2 separate regions of the Homo sapiens genome follow, and region 2 is linked to region 1. Evidence: promoter capture Hi-C in human tissues and cell types (Jung and others, 2019). All regions are on one chromosome and are shown on one strand. The core of a region is centred on a gene start or on the middle of the fragment in contact, and the rest is flanking DNA. Distances in the headings are between cores, read along the strand shown.

What was found. The method cuts DNA at HindIII sites, captures the fragments that hold promoters and counts their contacts. A contact is called where the count stands out against the background at its distance.
Region 2: a contact is called between the fragment with the promoter of KRTCAP2 here and a fragment that was not itself captured in region 1, in 1 of the 25 tissues and cell types used here (lymphoblastoid cells).

Annotation. Positions count from the first base shown.
Region 1 is chr1:155,635,170-155,642,097 of GRCh38, reverse strand. It overlaps the pseudogene LOC100419798. Among named protein-coding and RNA genes, the nearest start is that of MSTO1, 28 kb to the right of the region's middle. RefSeq lists enhancers at 4,658-5,417, 5,418-6,178, 6,179-6,928. The HindIII fragment of the contact is 3,850 bases long and covers 2,054-5,903 here.
Region 2 is chr1:155,168,584-155,175,660 of GRCh38, reverse strand. KRTCAP2 (keratinocyte associated protein 2) reads left to right here and starts at 2,357. Exons shown (of 5, transcript NM_173852.4): 1 at 2,357-2,440; 2 at 2,769-2,923; 3 at 3,033-3,096; 4 at 5,804-5,870; 5 at 6,101-6,253. The coding sequence starts at 2,437. The coding sequence ends at 6,221. It overlaps TRIM46 (tripartite motif containing 46), which reads right to left and starts at 1,812. Exons shown (of 10, transcript NM_025058.5): 1 at 1,632-1,812; 2 at 14-275. The coding sequence starts at 1,694. RefSeq lists silencers at 1,274-1,568, 1,738-1,827 and enhancers at 1,577-2,085, 2,158-2,207, 2,408-2,507, 2,086-2,594, 2,698-2,977. The HindIII fragment of the contact is 7,811 bases long and covers 1-5,839 here.

The DNA.
Region 1 (6,928 bases), core at 2,729-5,228:
AGCTTATATTCTATTGCACAAGGGCAAGGCCCTCTTACAGACAGGAGGTCTAACCTCCTCAGGGAAGCATTAATTTCAATACTATCCAACAACTAGATCTTATTTTTCCCAGTGAGACAACCCCCATCTTTGTAAGTGTTGTAAAATTAACCCTTCCCTCTTGGCAGTCATATCAGGCAAGTCTACAGAATATAATTCCCCAAAGTCAGAGAGGCAAACCCTTGAGGAACCCTCTAATGCAACTTCTCAGTGCCCTAACTGCCTCCTGTATCCAGGGCCCCCAATAGCCATATCATCAGCCCCTCCAGCTATGCTACCCAAAAAGCTGCCAACTTCGCTGTTGCCTTTGCAGGAAATGCTGAATGGACATGGTGCTACTAGGTTTCAAGTTCCCTTCTCATTGCAGGACCTTAGACAAATAAAGGGATAGCTAGGCAAGTTCTCTGATGACCTTCATAGATATATAGAGGCTTTCTAAAATCTAATCCAAGTGTTTGATCTTACATGGGGAGATGCTATGCTACTTTTATGCCAAACCCTAACTGTTGCAGAGAAACAAGAAGCCCTACAGACAGCAGGGATATTCAGAGATGAACAGCATGTCTCCTATAACCAGTCAAAAGAAAAACCCAGTCAAAAGGGGAAACATGGTAAAAAAGAGACAGAATCCCCTTTCCCAACAGGAAGAGAAACTATGCCCCTTAAAAACCCTAATTGGGGCTGGGCGTGGTGGCTCACACCTGTAATTTCAGCACTTTGGGAGGCCGAGGCGGGTGGATCGCCTGAAGTTGAGAGTTTGAGACCAGCCTGACCAACATGGAGAGACCCCGTCTCTACTAAAAATACAAAATTAGCTGGGCATGGTGGCGCATGCCTGTAATCCCAGCTACTCGGGAGGCTGAGGCAGGAGAATCACTTGAACCCAGAAGATGGAGGTTGCGGTGAGCCGAGATTGGGCCATTGCACTCCAGCCTGGGTAACAAGAGCAAAACTCCGAAAAAGAAAAAAACCTCTAATTGGAGTCCTGGTGATCCCATAGACAAGTGGAAAAGAAAACACTTTCTGATGTGCATATTAAAAGGCTTGCAAAGAATCAGAACCAAAACTCTTAATTACTGTAAACTGTCCTTGTTGAATCAGAAACCAAATGAAAATCTCTCAGCCTTTTTGGAAAGGCTGAAAAAAGCTTTAGTGAAACACACCTCCCTGTCTCTCAATTCAATAAAGAACAGGTTCATTACTCAGGCAGCACCTGATAGCAGACGCAAGTTGCTGAAACAGGCCCTGTCCAAAGATCATTCTAGTTTTTGTCACCCTCAAGTTGAAACTTTGTAGTATGTAAAGACACTCTCCTCTGTGCCCCAACCAAGGAGGTCTCAGGAAGGTACTAAGGCTCTCTTCAATTTCATAGCTGAAAGGGAATATAGGGTCTCAAAATCTAAAGCTCAGCTTTGTCAAACTTCAGTAAAGTATCTGGGTCTGGTCTTATCAGAAGGGAACAGAGCACCAGGTAAGGAAAGGATTAAGCCCATTTCCTTTAACAGTTAAGGGTATTCTTAGGCATTACTGGATTTTGCAGACTGTGAGTGCCTGGGTATGGTGAAATAGCTTGCCCTTTATACCACCTCACAAAAGAAACTCAAGCAGCTAAAACTCACTCCCTAACTTGGGAACCTAAAACTCAAAAGCCTTTAACCAGTTAAAGCAAGCTTTATTTAATACACCATCCATCCCTCAGTCTTCCCATAGGGAGGGCATTTAGTTTCTATGTATCACAAAGGAAGGGAATGGCCCTGGGAGTTTTTTTGTTTTTGTTTTTTTGTGTGTGTGTCTTTTTTTTTTTTTTTTTTTTTTTTTTGAGACATAGTCTCGCTCTGTCGTCCAGGCTGGAGTGCAGTGGCACGATCTCGGCTCAATGCAAGCTCCACCTCCTGGGTTCACGCCATTCTCCTGCCTCAGCCTCCCGAGTAGCCAGGACAACAGGCACCCGCCACCATGCCCAGCTAATTTTTTGTATTTTTAGTAGAGACGGGGTTTCACTGTGTTAGCCAGGATGGTCTCGATCTCCTGACCTTGTGATCCACCCGCTTTGGCCTTCCAAAGTGCTGGGATTACAGGAGTGAGCCACCATGCCTGGCTGGCCCTGGGAGTTTTAACTAAGGCTAAAGGTCCAACTCAACAGCCAGTAGGTTACCTAAGCAAGGAACTTCGCCTCGTGGCTAAAGGATGGCCAGCCTGCCTCCAAGCAGTTGCAGCAGTGGCTTTGCTGGTGGCAGAAACCACTGGGTTAAACATGGGGAATAACTTAACTGTTTGCACCCCACACAGTATAGCAGGACTGCTGTCCTCTAAGGGAAGTCTCTGGCTAACAGAAAAATCGCCTCATCAAAAATCAAGCTTTGCTGCTAGAGGAATCTGCAGTCCAGTTGAAAACCTGCCCTTGCCTAAACCCAGCCACTTTCTCCCAGAGGAAATTGGGGAACCTGAACATGATTGTGAACAGGTAGTGGTACAAACCAGTAAAAGAAATGATAAGGATCACTGTTTATATTCTCTGTAAAGTTTTGATTAATGAAAAACAATTTTCATGAAGAGCACTTGGCTTAATTGAAACTGAGTATCCAACCTATAGGTATATTCAAGAGGCCTTTATGTTTTTCCCTCCATAAATCTTGTTTTTCTGGAAAAGGCTTTTTTTCTCTGGCAACTGAATTACTTTTTCCCACTCTGTCTTGCCATTCTTGGTGCATGGATGAAAGGCCCTAGGATGACTTCTGGTGGCCTGGGACTCCTTGGGAAAACAGACAAGATGCCAGAAATCCCATTTAGGAAAAAAATCTGTTTTCCACATGGAATCCCTGGAATCCCTTTTAAAATCTGTTTTTGTCTTCCAACTGTGCATGTTTATTAGGCTCCAAAAACTACATGCTTTTCTGGCCCTATTCCTAAATAGCTCCATCCTGAGCTGCTGGATCTTCTTCTATCTATATAGTCCTATATGGGTTATGTGTGTGATGTCTGTTAAAAAAGACCTCTAATTAATTGACTTGAAGGGTAAGTGCTTGGATTAAATATTTTTTAAAGGGATAATGAAGGTTGTGGTACCTTTCAGTTCATGTGACTTTAATTTTTGAAAAATAAAAACAGCCTTAAAAATTATTGGTAAAGTGTAGATGTCTTCAAGATGTAAATATATGGTCTAAATTATGCAGGTCAGATACTAGGTTTGCTGAATGTTTTAAGGTTGTAAACTTCTTCTTTGGCCTTTAAACTTGCCTGCTTCACAATTGGTAAGACCTGGGGACATATGGAAGTAACCATTCCCCTAACTATGCTGGAAGGAGTCAGACTTTATCTGCACCTAGCACATAATTAAAACAACTTTACCAGGTTTTACATTGAAGTTGAAAATTGCTAAGAGTTACTGTTATAACATGTAATTTAGACTACTGAAAATAGATTTACATGCAAGGTGTGCAAGAACAGTAAAGTATCTTTTTAGTCAAAGATTATAAGAAGGCATGGAAATGCACATTTTGCCTAGGGATACAGGATTGTCTTAAATTAGATAAAATAAAACAAAAAGTTTAAGCAAATGTGGAAAGACTGTAAAAATTAATCTTCCAAAAGGAAACTGTGAACATATTGACTAAATTCAAAAGGGTTTTTCTGAAAATGGAGCACTGAAATAAAAGCACATGGCCAGGCATGGTGGCTCACGCCTGTAATCCCAGCACTTTGGGAGGTCAAGGAGGGTGGATCACCTGAGGTTGGGAGTTCAAGAGCAGCCTGACCAACATGGAGAAACCCCATCTCTACTAAAAATACAAAAAATTAGCTGGGCGTCATTGCACATGCCTGTAATCCCAGCTACTTGGGAGGCTGAGGCAGGAGAATCGCTTTAACCCTGGAGGCAGAGGTTGTGGTCAGCCTAGATCACGCCATTGCACTCCAGCCTGGGCAGCAAGAGTGAAACTCCATCTCAAAAAAAAAAAAAAAAGAAAAAAAGAAAAGCACAACAAGGTTTTCTTAAGATGCTACTCCTCTTTAGCAAGATTTGTAAACGGTTATGAAAGGTTCATAAAAATCTCACCTCATGGTCAAACTGATTAAGATTGAATAGAATTGGGCAACCCTTGGCCGGGTGCAGTGGCTCATGCCTGTAATCCCAGCACTTTGGAAGGCCAAGGCGGGTGGATCACGAGGTCAGGAGATCGAGACCATCCTGGTTAACACAGTGAGACCCCATCTCTACTAAAAATACAAAAAATTAGCCGGGCGTGGTGGCAGGCGCCTGTAATCCCAGCTACTCGGGAGGCTGAGGCTGGAGAATGGCGTGAACCCAGGAGGCGCAGCTTGCAGTGAGCCGAGATTGCGCCACTGCACTCCAGCCTGGGCGACACAGCGAGACTCCATCTCAAAAAAAAAAAGGATTGGGCAACCCTTCTGGGTTCCCTTCCACCATATGGAAGCTTTACTTTCGCTTTCACTTTACTTTCACTTTTGCTTTAATAAATCTTGCCACCGCACACTCTTTGGGTCTGCATGTTTCTCTAATGGAGCTGTAACACTCACCACTGAGGTCCATGGCTTCTTTCCTTGAAGCCTGTGAAACCACGAACCCTTCAATCAAGAAAAGACCTTTGATCAGGAGAAGACTTCTCGTCTCATTTCTGGGGACACATTCAGGATTTCTCCAAAGCAGTGAGTAACATTGAACCCCTCTTGCTTGCTATTCTGTTCTATCTTCTCATTAGAAATTGGAAGAAAACACCAGGCACCTGTCAGCCATTTAAATGTGACAAGCGGCCGGGTGCAGTGGCTCACACCTGTAACTGCAGCACTTTGGGAGGCCAAGGCGGGTGGATCACGAGGTCAGGAGATTGAGATCATCCTGGCTAACACAGTGAAACCCCACCTCTACTAAAAATACAAAAAATATTAGCCAGGCATGGTGGTGGGCACCTGTAGTCCCAGGTACTCGGGAAGCTGAGGCAGGAGATTGGCGGGAACCCAGGAGGCAGAGCTTGCAGTGAGCTGAGATTGCACCACTGCACTCCAGCCTGGGCAACAGAGCAAGACTCCATCTCAAAAAAAAAAAAAAAAGTGACAAGCGCAGCCGCCAGGCTTAAGACACAGGTGTGAGGCTCTCTGGGAAAGGGCTCTCTAACAACCCCCGGCCCTCTGGGCTGGGAGTGTTGGTTTGCCTGGAACCAGGTCCACCTTTCTCTACCTTTCCTGGGAAAAGCTGAGGGCTGGCTAGAGGCGGAAAACTGTCGTCCTGAACTCCCAGCACTGACCCAGTTGAGATCATGGCACAGCGAGAAGCCTCTACACTGCAGCTGCCCATGCGTGCATTTCATGTCTTTTCTGACCCATGCCTCCTGGGTCCTAACGTCCTCAGAGAAGACTTTCTTGAGGTCCTATCCTCTAGGATCTTTCCTAGATCAAGTCTAAGAATCTTTTGGCTAGGAGCCTAAGTCAAGTGGGGAGGTAATCCAAAGACCTTTGCCCATGGTGTCCCCAGGCTTATTCTTATGCAAATGGGTATCAGTATACTTACACGGGACCTGTCCCTCATAACCTGTACCCTAGGTACTATCTGGAACATCAAAAGGCATGTCAGTGGCTGATAGAAGGCCTAAGACATTTTTCCTTTTGTTGCCCTAAACTTACTCCAGATTGTAGAGACTCCTTTAATTACCACCTTTCCTGTCTGGAATCAGCGATTAGAACTGTAGAACTTCTCCACTTGAAGTGGTCATACTTATGGGCCAAAAACAATATAATAGACAATAGGTCCCCTGATTCAAGTCCAAAGGTCAATGAATATTCTTAGGAGGGCAAATAGGGGACAGAAGATTCAGGTATGAAAAGCACAGTTCCAACTTTGGTCCTCCAATTTGCCGCTGCCTTCCCTAAAACTGTTGTGCTATAGTGCCATTTTCAAGGAATTTATCTTGCTGGGACAGCTCCAAGCCCAGAAATATGCTAACTGGTGCCTGGTCTCTAAACTCAAAATACACCCCAAACCTAAGACCCACTTGCAGATGCAAAGGCAATTGTGGGCATGCTGTTAAGGAGCCACTAAAATCCAGCAGCCCAGGACCTCTTTCTTTGTGGCTAAAAAAGGACAGGAAACAAATTCAGGCAAAACTGCTATGTCGGTAAGCACAATTAAATTCATTAAGCAGGGTTCCATGGGTGATTGAGCACCCTGGAAAGTAAAGGACACTAGAACCATAGGGGATGTGTGGGGAAAAGCAAGAGAGATCAGATTGTTACTGTGTCTGTGTAGAAAGAAGTAGACATGGGAGACTCCATTTTGTTATGTGCTAAGAAAAATTCTTCTGCCTTGAGATTCTGTTAATCTATGACCTTACCCCCAACCCCGTGCTCTCTGAAACGTGTGCTGTGTCAACTCAGGGTTGAATGGATTAAGGGCGGTGCAGGATGTGCTTTGTTAAACAGATGCTTGAAGGCAGCATGCTCCTTAAGAGTCATCACCACTCCCTAATCTCAAGTACCCAGGGACACAAAAACTGCGGAAGGCCGCAGGGACCTCTGCCTAGGAAAGCCAGGTATTGTCCAAGGTTTCTCCCCATGTGATAGTCTGAAATATGGCCTCGTGGGAAGGGAAAGACCTGACTGTCCCCCAGCCCGACACCCGTAAAGGGTCTGTGCTGAGGAGGATTAGTATAAGAGGAAGGAATGCCTCTTGCAGTTGAGACAAGAGGAAGGCATCTGTCTCCTGCCTGTCCCTGGGCAATGGAATGTCTCGGTATAAAACCCGATTGTATGCTCCATCTACTGAGATAGGGAAAAACCGCCTTAGGGCTGGAGGTGGGACCTGCGGGCAGCAATACTGCTTTGTAAAGCACTGAGATGTTTATGTGTATGCATATCCAAAAGCACAGCACTTAATCCT
Region 2 (7,077 bases), core at 1,108-3,607, 460 kb after region 1:
GCCCCAGTCCCACCTGACTTAAGCAGCCGGTCCAGGCGGTCTGGCTTGGGGAGAGTTCTGCGGGAGAGGCGGGGGCTGCGGGTGGAAGGGGTGGAGGCAGGAGAGGTGGGCTCGGAGCTGGGGTCCCCACCATGTCCTATGTAGCCCTGCTGGCCCAAGACCTCTCGGGCACAGGCCTGGCACACGTTGTGGGTACAGGGCAGCACCAGTGGCTGCTTGTACATCTCTTGACACACTGGGCACAGCAGTTCCTTCTCCATGTTCTTCATGCTGGTCTGTGGAGGGACCAGGAGGCTAGGTCAGCGCTTGGACACTTAGGCATACCTCAGCAGCCCCTTGGCTGCCCTTGGATACCCTAGGGGTCTGAGGAAGGAGCAAGACAAGCTACCTGCAGCTTTTCCAGAGCACCTGCCTTGGGCTGGTTCACAGACCTTCCCAGACCTCTGTCCCTTGCTTCTCTTTCCCCGCTGCAGAGCTAAAGGCCCAGAGGAGGGACGGTTGGAGCTTGTGCCTGCTCCAGCCTCAAGCCCAATCCCCATTTCTCCAGCTGCAGTAGCCCCAGCTGGCAGCCCCCTCACCTGCCTCCATCCCCCATCTCTGGGCAGCTTGCCCCTGGCATTTTTCTCAAGGACACCGCCCATTCTGCAGCTCCATGCAGACCCCCACTCCCTTCTCTAGCAGCACCCCCATGCCGTGATTCCTCCCGATAGCCAGGCGAGGTTGGCACTCCATCCTGCTCGCTCCATACGTCCTCCTGCCGCAGCTCCGGCCTGCGGCCACTCCAGCCTCCATTCCCCATCCTTCACTTCCCCATCGGTCTTACCAACCCATTCCCCTTCGCCCCCATCAGGCCCTCCCGCCCTCTCCCGCAGCGCAACCCGGTCAGCGGCACCCCCTTCTCCGAACTAGCGGGGGAATCAAGAGCCCCGCCTACTCGCCCCCTCCCCACCGGAAGTCCCCTCCCCCTCTTGGTGGCGAGAGTGGGGGTCCTCAGGCTATGCCCCACCCCCACACCTCACCTTGGTCCCTCTCTTCGCAGCCATCCCGGTCAGGGGCGCAGCTGACACAAAGGAGGGAGGAACAAGGAGGGGGGGAGGAAGTGGTGGGGGGGAACACGGTTGGCACCGCCCCTGGGAGAGCCAGGCACGGGTTGCCATGACAACCGCAGGCTCGGAAGCAGCCCTGAGTGGGGGTGCGTGGGGTGGGGTCTTGGGGAGGGGTCCAAATTGGGAACTGCACTGTGGGGCGGCTCCTACATCATCCCCCACCTGTCCTCAGTTTTCTTGGAAAATATCCAAGCTCACACGTCCCTCTTCTCATAACAGGGCCTTTCCCCTGAAGCCCCAGCCCCGGTGCACTGCTGGAGGCCACCCCAGCCCACCCGCTGCGTCTGGGCTGCTCCTAGCTCCTCCTCACGCTCCAGCACACCGACGCCTTCACGGCACTCACCTCCGGGCTGCTCCCGGGATTACCCTCTCATACCTGCATCCCGACCCTCCCAGCCGTTTCTGCCATCGCTAGCCCCCTGTCTACATCCCAGCATCTTCCTGGATCCCCACCTGTTCCAGGTCCCAGCTTGCCCCAGAACCCTATACGCCCCCTCCCCTTCCCTCGACCCCACCTTAACTCACACTGATGCGGACCAGTGCGTCCATGATGGAAGTGAAGGTCTGCATATCCTCACCCTCTGCCATGGCCCTACCGTGCCCGCCCGCCCCTGGGTGCCCGATCCCGGCTGCGGCTGCGAACCCCGGGCTTAATGCAGGAGCCCAGTGGGGGTGTGAGGAGGGCTGGGGGTTGAGGTGTCACTGCGCATGCTCCCGGGACCAGCCTCGAACAGCGCCCGTCGGGGTAGGGGGTGGGAAATAGTTCTCCCCACGTGGTTCTCGAAAGCCGGTCGGGGGGTTGGGGAATATGGAAAGGTATTTGACGGGGGAGCCATTTCTTACATTCTCATTTTTCATTGGCTCCTAATTTTACTCATATAAAGCGGGGGATTAGTTTCGGAGGAAAATGAGTTCCTGGTTGGGAGCACTAAATTTTAGGTTGGGAGATGTTGAGGCATGGGGCAGGGAGGTTTGAGGAACGTGCACTAGAGATGAAAGAAATGGCAAAGAAGACAGAGATGGGATAGATGCCACAGGCATGGGCCCAATGACTTAAAGAGATAAGTGCACCTTGTACAGAGTGGCAGCAGACGCACCAGGTACGAGGAAAGCCTGAGGACCAGGGCGGTGGCCGAGGATGCCCCCTCGACGCATTATTTCCTCCCTGTCGCAAGAGGGCGCTGCGTCCAGGCACTGAGAGGAAGAAAGAGGAGAACGCGAGGAGTAGCAAGTCCGCGGTAAGCGCTGACGCATGCGCATAGCTAACCGCACCCGGTTCAGCTCGCCTTTCTTGGCCAGAGGCGCCGGTTGGACTCACGGGCGGGGCATGATGGGTAACAGGACCGGTGGGGTCCCCAGGAAGTCCTAGAGGGGGTCGGGGTTTGGGTGGACAAGCTTTCCTCGTCCTCTCCCGACAGAGCTGACGTGTCCTGGGTTCCACCGGGAGCGGGCATTTCCACCGGACGGGAGGGTTCGGGGTGTCCGGGGCTGGGGAATACGTAGGGGTTGCCGCGCGGTGTGGGGAGTTGGGGCGTGTGGCTGCAGTCCCGGGAGTTCTTGGAGGGGGTCGGCCCACCGAGCTTCCGGACCGGCTGATCTGCCCGTAGCTTGCCGGAGGGAGGGCGGAGCCTGACTCTCCGTCCCTTCTCCCATCCCCTCCAGTGGTGGGTACGGGCACCTCGCTGGCGCTCTCCTCCCTCCTGTCCCTGCTGCTCTTTGCTGGGATGCAGATGTACAGCCGTCAGCTGGCCTCCACCGAGTGGCTCACCATCCAGGGCGGCCTGCTTGGTTCGGGTCTCTTCGTGTTCTCGCTCACTGTATCCTCCCTGCAGTTGGAGGGGGCGGGCCACGTAGGCATGTGCCCTTCCCCTTCCCCACACAGCTCTGTCCCCGTTGCACACCCTACTCCTTAACTCCCTCAACCAGGCCTTCAATAATCTGGAGAATCTTGTCTTTGGCAAAGGATTCCAAGCAAAGATCTTCCCTGAGAGTAAGTGAATATTGGAGCTTGAGTATTTGAACTTTCTCCTCTTTAACCTCCTGAAACATGATATTGAATTTCCAGATGCTTAGGTGAAAGGTTGTTAAGGAGAAATATATTTACTGAAGCTGTCTGAAGACAGATGACGCTTTTCGATTCTGCACCTTGTATAGCTCCTGGAGTTGGAGCTGGAAGAGAAGGCCTTTGAAAGCAAGAAACTTTGGTACCTTCTGGCCAGCTCCCAGGGAAGGTTTGAGGGGAACAGGCAAATTTGGGCTGATGTTTTGCATCTATTCGCTGGGAGGCGGTCCTTGTTCCCACCAGAAGAAGCAGCAGGACCAAGTTCACTATGGAGTTCTGATGTGAAGTTAACTCAATATTAGAGAATTCTACTTATTTGAGGGAATTGTGAAGAGCCTAAATACTAGAGGCACCAAATATCTATGGCAGCAGGAATCCTGACCAAATCAGAATAACTGTTAGATTATTTCCTGTTTGGAATAATTCTTGTTCAATTGCTCATGTAATCAAGAATTGATGATTCAGTTATTTATGGAGAATTAAGTTTATAAAGCAAATTAAGTGTCAAGGCCAGATTACTTAAGGAATGCCACGTGCTCAGAAATTCACAGCAGATGCAATCTCATGTAAAACCCTCATGTGGTAAAACAAAGATCTATCATGGTTGCCCTTAATCTTTTCTCTTTTTTTTTTTTTTTTTTTTTTGAGACAAGGCTTTACTCTGTCGCCTAGGCTGGAGTGCAGGGATGTGATCACTGAAGCCTTGACCTGGTCTCAAGCAATCTTCCCTCCTCAGTCTTACCAGTAGCTGGGACTACCAGTGAGTGCCACCACACCCAGCTACTGTTTTAAGTTTTTGTAGAGATGGGGTTTCACCACATTGCCCAGGCTGGTCTCGAACTCCTGGGCTCAAGTGATCCTCCTATTTCAGCCTCCCAGAGTGCTGGAATTACAGGTGTGAGCCACTGTGCCTGGCTGCCCTCATTTCTTTGCCCCCCTCTAGGACTTGCTTTCTCCGCATAGCCCTTTTGCAGGCTTCAGAGTTCTTTCCATCCAGTAGCCCCGGGACTTCTCTCTGTTAGGTTTTGTTTCCATATGTATTACCTTCACTTGCTTCTTTTTTTTTTTTTTTTTGAGATGGAGTCTCGCTCTGTCACCCATGCTGGAGTACAGTGGTGTGAACCCAGCTCACTGGAGCCTCTGCCTCCCAGGTTCAAGCGATTCTCCTGCCTCAGCCTCCCGAGTAGCTGGGATTACATGCGTGCGCCACCATAACTGGCTAATTTTTGTATTTTTGGTAGAGATAGGATTTCACCATGTTGGTTAGGCTGGTCTTGAACTCCTGACCTTAAGTGATCCACCCGTCTTGGCCTCCCAGAGTGCTGGGATTACAGGGGTGAGCCACTGTGCCTGGCTTTTCAGTTGCTTCTGAAAGAAACCATTGGCTGGGTGGGATGGCACACGCCTGTAATCCTAGCACTTTGGGAGGTGTAGGCTGGCAGATAGCTTGGGCCCAGGAATTCAAGACCAGCTTGGGCAACATAGAGAGACCCTGTCTCTCCAAAAAAATACAAAAATTAGCCGGGCATGGTGGTACGCACCTATAGTCCCAGGTACTCGGGAAGCTGAGGTGGGATGATCGCTTGAGCCCAGGAGATCAAGGCTGCAGTGAGCTGAAACTGCACCACTGCACTCCAGCCTGGGCGACAGAGTGAGATTCTGCCTCAAAAATAAAAAAAAATAATAAAAAAAGAAAAGATGCCATTGTGGTGGGGCAAAGTTCTTGGCCCACTTTGCCTTCTCTGCCCTCTCCACCTGGGCAGGTGGGGCCCTGTTTGTCTTTGCTTTTGTCCTCTCACCTTCTCTCCCATCATATTCCAGGTAACCTAAAATCCTTTCCTGCCCCCATGAAGAAGTAGATCCAAGCACTCTGCCCTCCAACCTGTGTCCAGGGAGCAAGGCCTTCAACTTCCACCACTGGTCACCCAGCTTAATGAATTGACTCTCATTGTCTGGCTTCTTTTGGAAAGGGTTTAACTGGGTTCCCCAAATGGGAACACACCTTGCCCTTCAGACTCTGTTGTCCATCACCTTTCCTTTTTCCTTTTATGGGAGGAAAGCCAGGGTAGGGAAGTTATGTGAGATATGGGGCAGAGCTGGTAAAAAAAAGCATACATCTACATCCATGTTCTTTTTTTTTTTTTTTTTTTTTGGAGACGGGGTCTCACTCTGTTGCCCAGGCTGGAGTGCAGTGGTGCGATCACAGTTCACTGCAACTTTGAACTTCCTGGCTCAAGGGTTCCTCCAACTTCAGCCTCCTGAATAGCTGGGACTACAGGCATGTGTACCACTGTACTACCTGGCTAAATTTTTTTTAATTCAATTTTTTTTTTTTTTAAGAGATGGGTCTCACTTTGTTGTTCAGGCTGGTCTCAAACTCCTGGGCTCAAGTGATCTGCCCACCTCAGCCTCCCGAAGTGCTGGGATTCCAGGTGCAAGCCACCACACTCAACCTCCTACCTCCATGTTCTGGGTATCATTAAGGTAATCAGAATCCTCCTGCTGTAGTCACGCTTACCCTTCTAAGCAGGTTCCCCAGGATTCAGAGAGCCCCGGATTTCTCCTGGACTCCATGTGCAGATGCCTAGTATTTCCATTCTGACCGTTGCCCTCCTTGTTCTTCTTGCCTCCCTAGTTCTCCTGTGCCTCCTGTTGGCTCTCTTTGCATCTGGCCTCATCCACCGAGTCTGTGTCACCACCTGGTATGTTCTTGACAGCTGGGTAAGGGGTGTAGCATTCCGTTTTTTGGCATTGGATCTTACTGTGATGGTGCCAGAGTTTTTCCTTCCACACCTACCTCTCTCTCTGTTCTCCCTCCCCGTTTTCCTAAACTTGAACTTGGATTCTTTCCTTGATGCTAGTGTCTTCCCTAGGAGGCACCAGGCTGGCAGATGCCCACTGGTGCCATGACCTTTCTGTCTTCACCATATAGCTTCATCTTCTCCATGGTTGGTCTGTACTACATCAACAAGATCTCCTCCACCCTGTACCAGGCAGCAGCTCCAGTCCTCACACCAGCCAAGGTCACAGGCAAGAGCAAGAAGAGAAACTGACCCTGAATGTTCAATAAAGTTGATTCTTTGTAGCTCTGTGAGTTGTGATATGTTGTGGGTGTCATCTACCAGTATCCAGCTTAGATGTACAGAATGTTAAGACATTTGGGCACCTTCTGTTTTCAGACCTTGGGAATAGTGAGGCTTTCCTTCCTCCCACATTAATTTTTACCAGTTATCTGTTGAATACTGTCAGTGCCACTGGAGTGGCATATACTTGTGTGAGTCTCATCATGGAAGAAAAGTACATGAATGTTCTGCAGTCGTGTTCTTTGGGGAAAGGGGTAAAGGCTGCAATGCAGGAAGTCCTGTCCGTCAGTACCAGAAGGGATCTTGGAGCAAAAGAGTAAAGGAAGGAAAGGTCCCGTATACCTACACTGTTTCACGGGGTTCCACGTGGTATCTTTGCCACTCCAGCTCCCTGCCTTAAGCAAATCAGCCCCCTGCTGCAAGTGCATAGGTGGGACTTCTCTCCTGATGCTGTCCCTGGGACCTATCTGTTCTACTTCAGCATGAACATATGGCTGTGTTTAGAAAGACTCCCCAGGTGATCAACTGCTCCTAGCCTGTTTGTTCTGGTGCTTTCATTTTTTCCCCATCTTGTAGCCAAGACAATGGGAACTTCCTAAATTGTAGCGAAGTATATAAAACAATAGGAGCAAGGACACCAACCTCTGAGCCCACCTTGATGGAAATGCAGGTGGCTACTTGCACCCTGCCCTGTCTGTGCTCTGTCATGAGGAACAACTCTATGCAGAGTGCCCGTCCTAGGTGCCGTCCCTCGTGCTGAATGGCGTGTGTTTTAGGGTATACACCTCATCTTGGTCAGCTTTGTTTTTTCCAGAGCCTGATAATG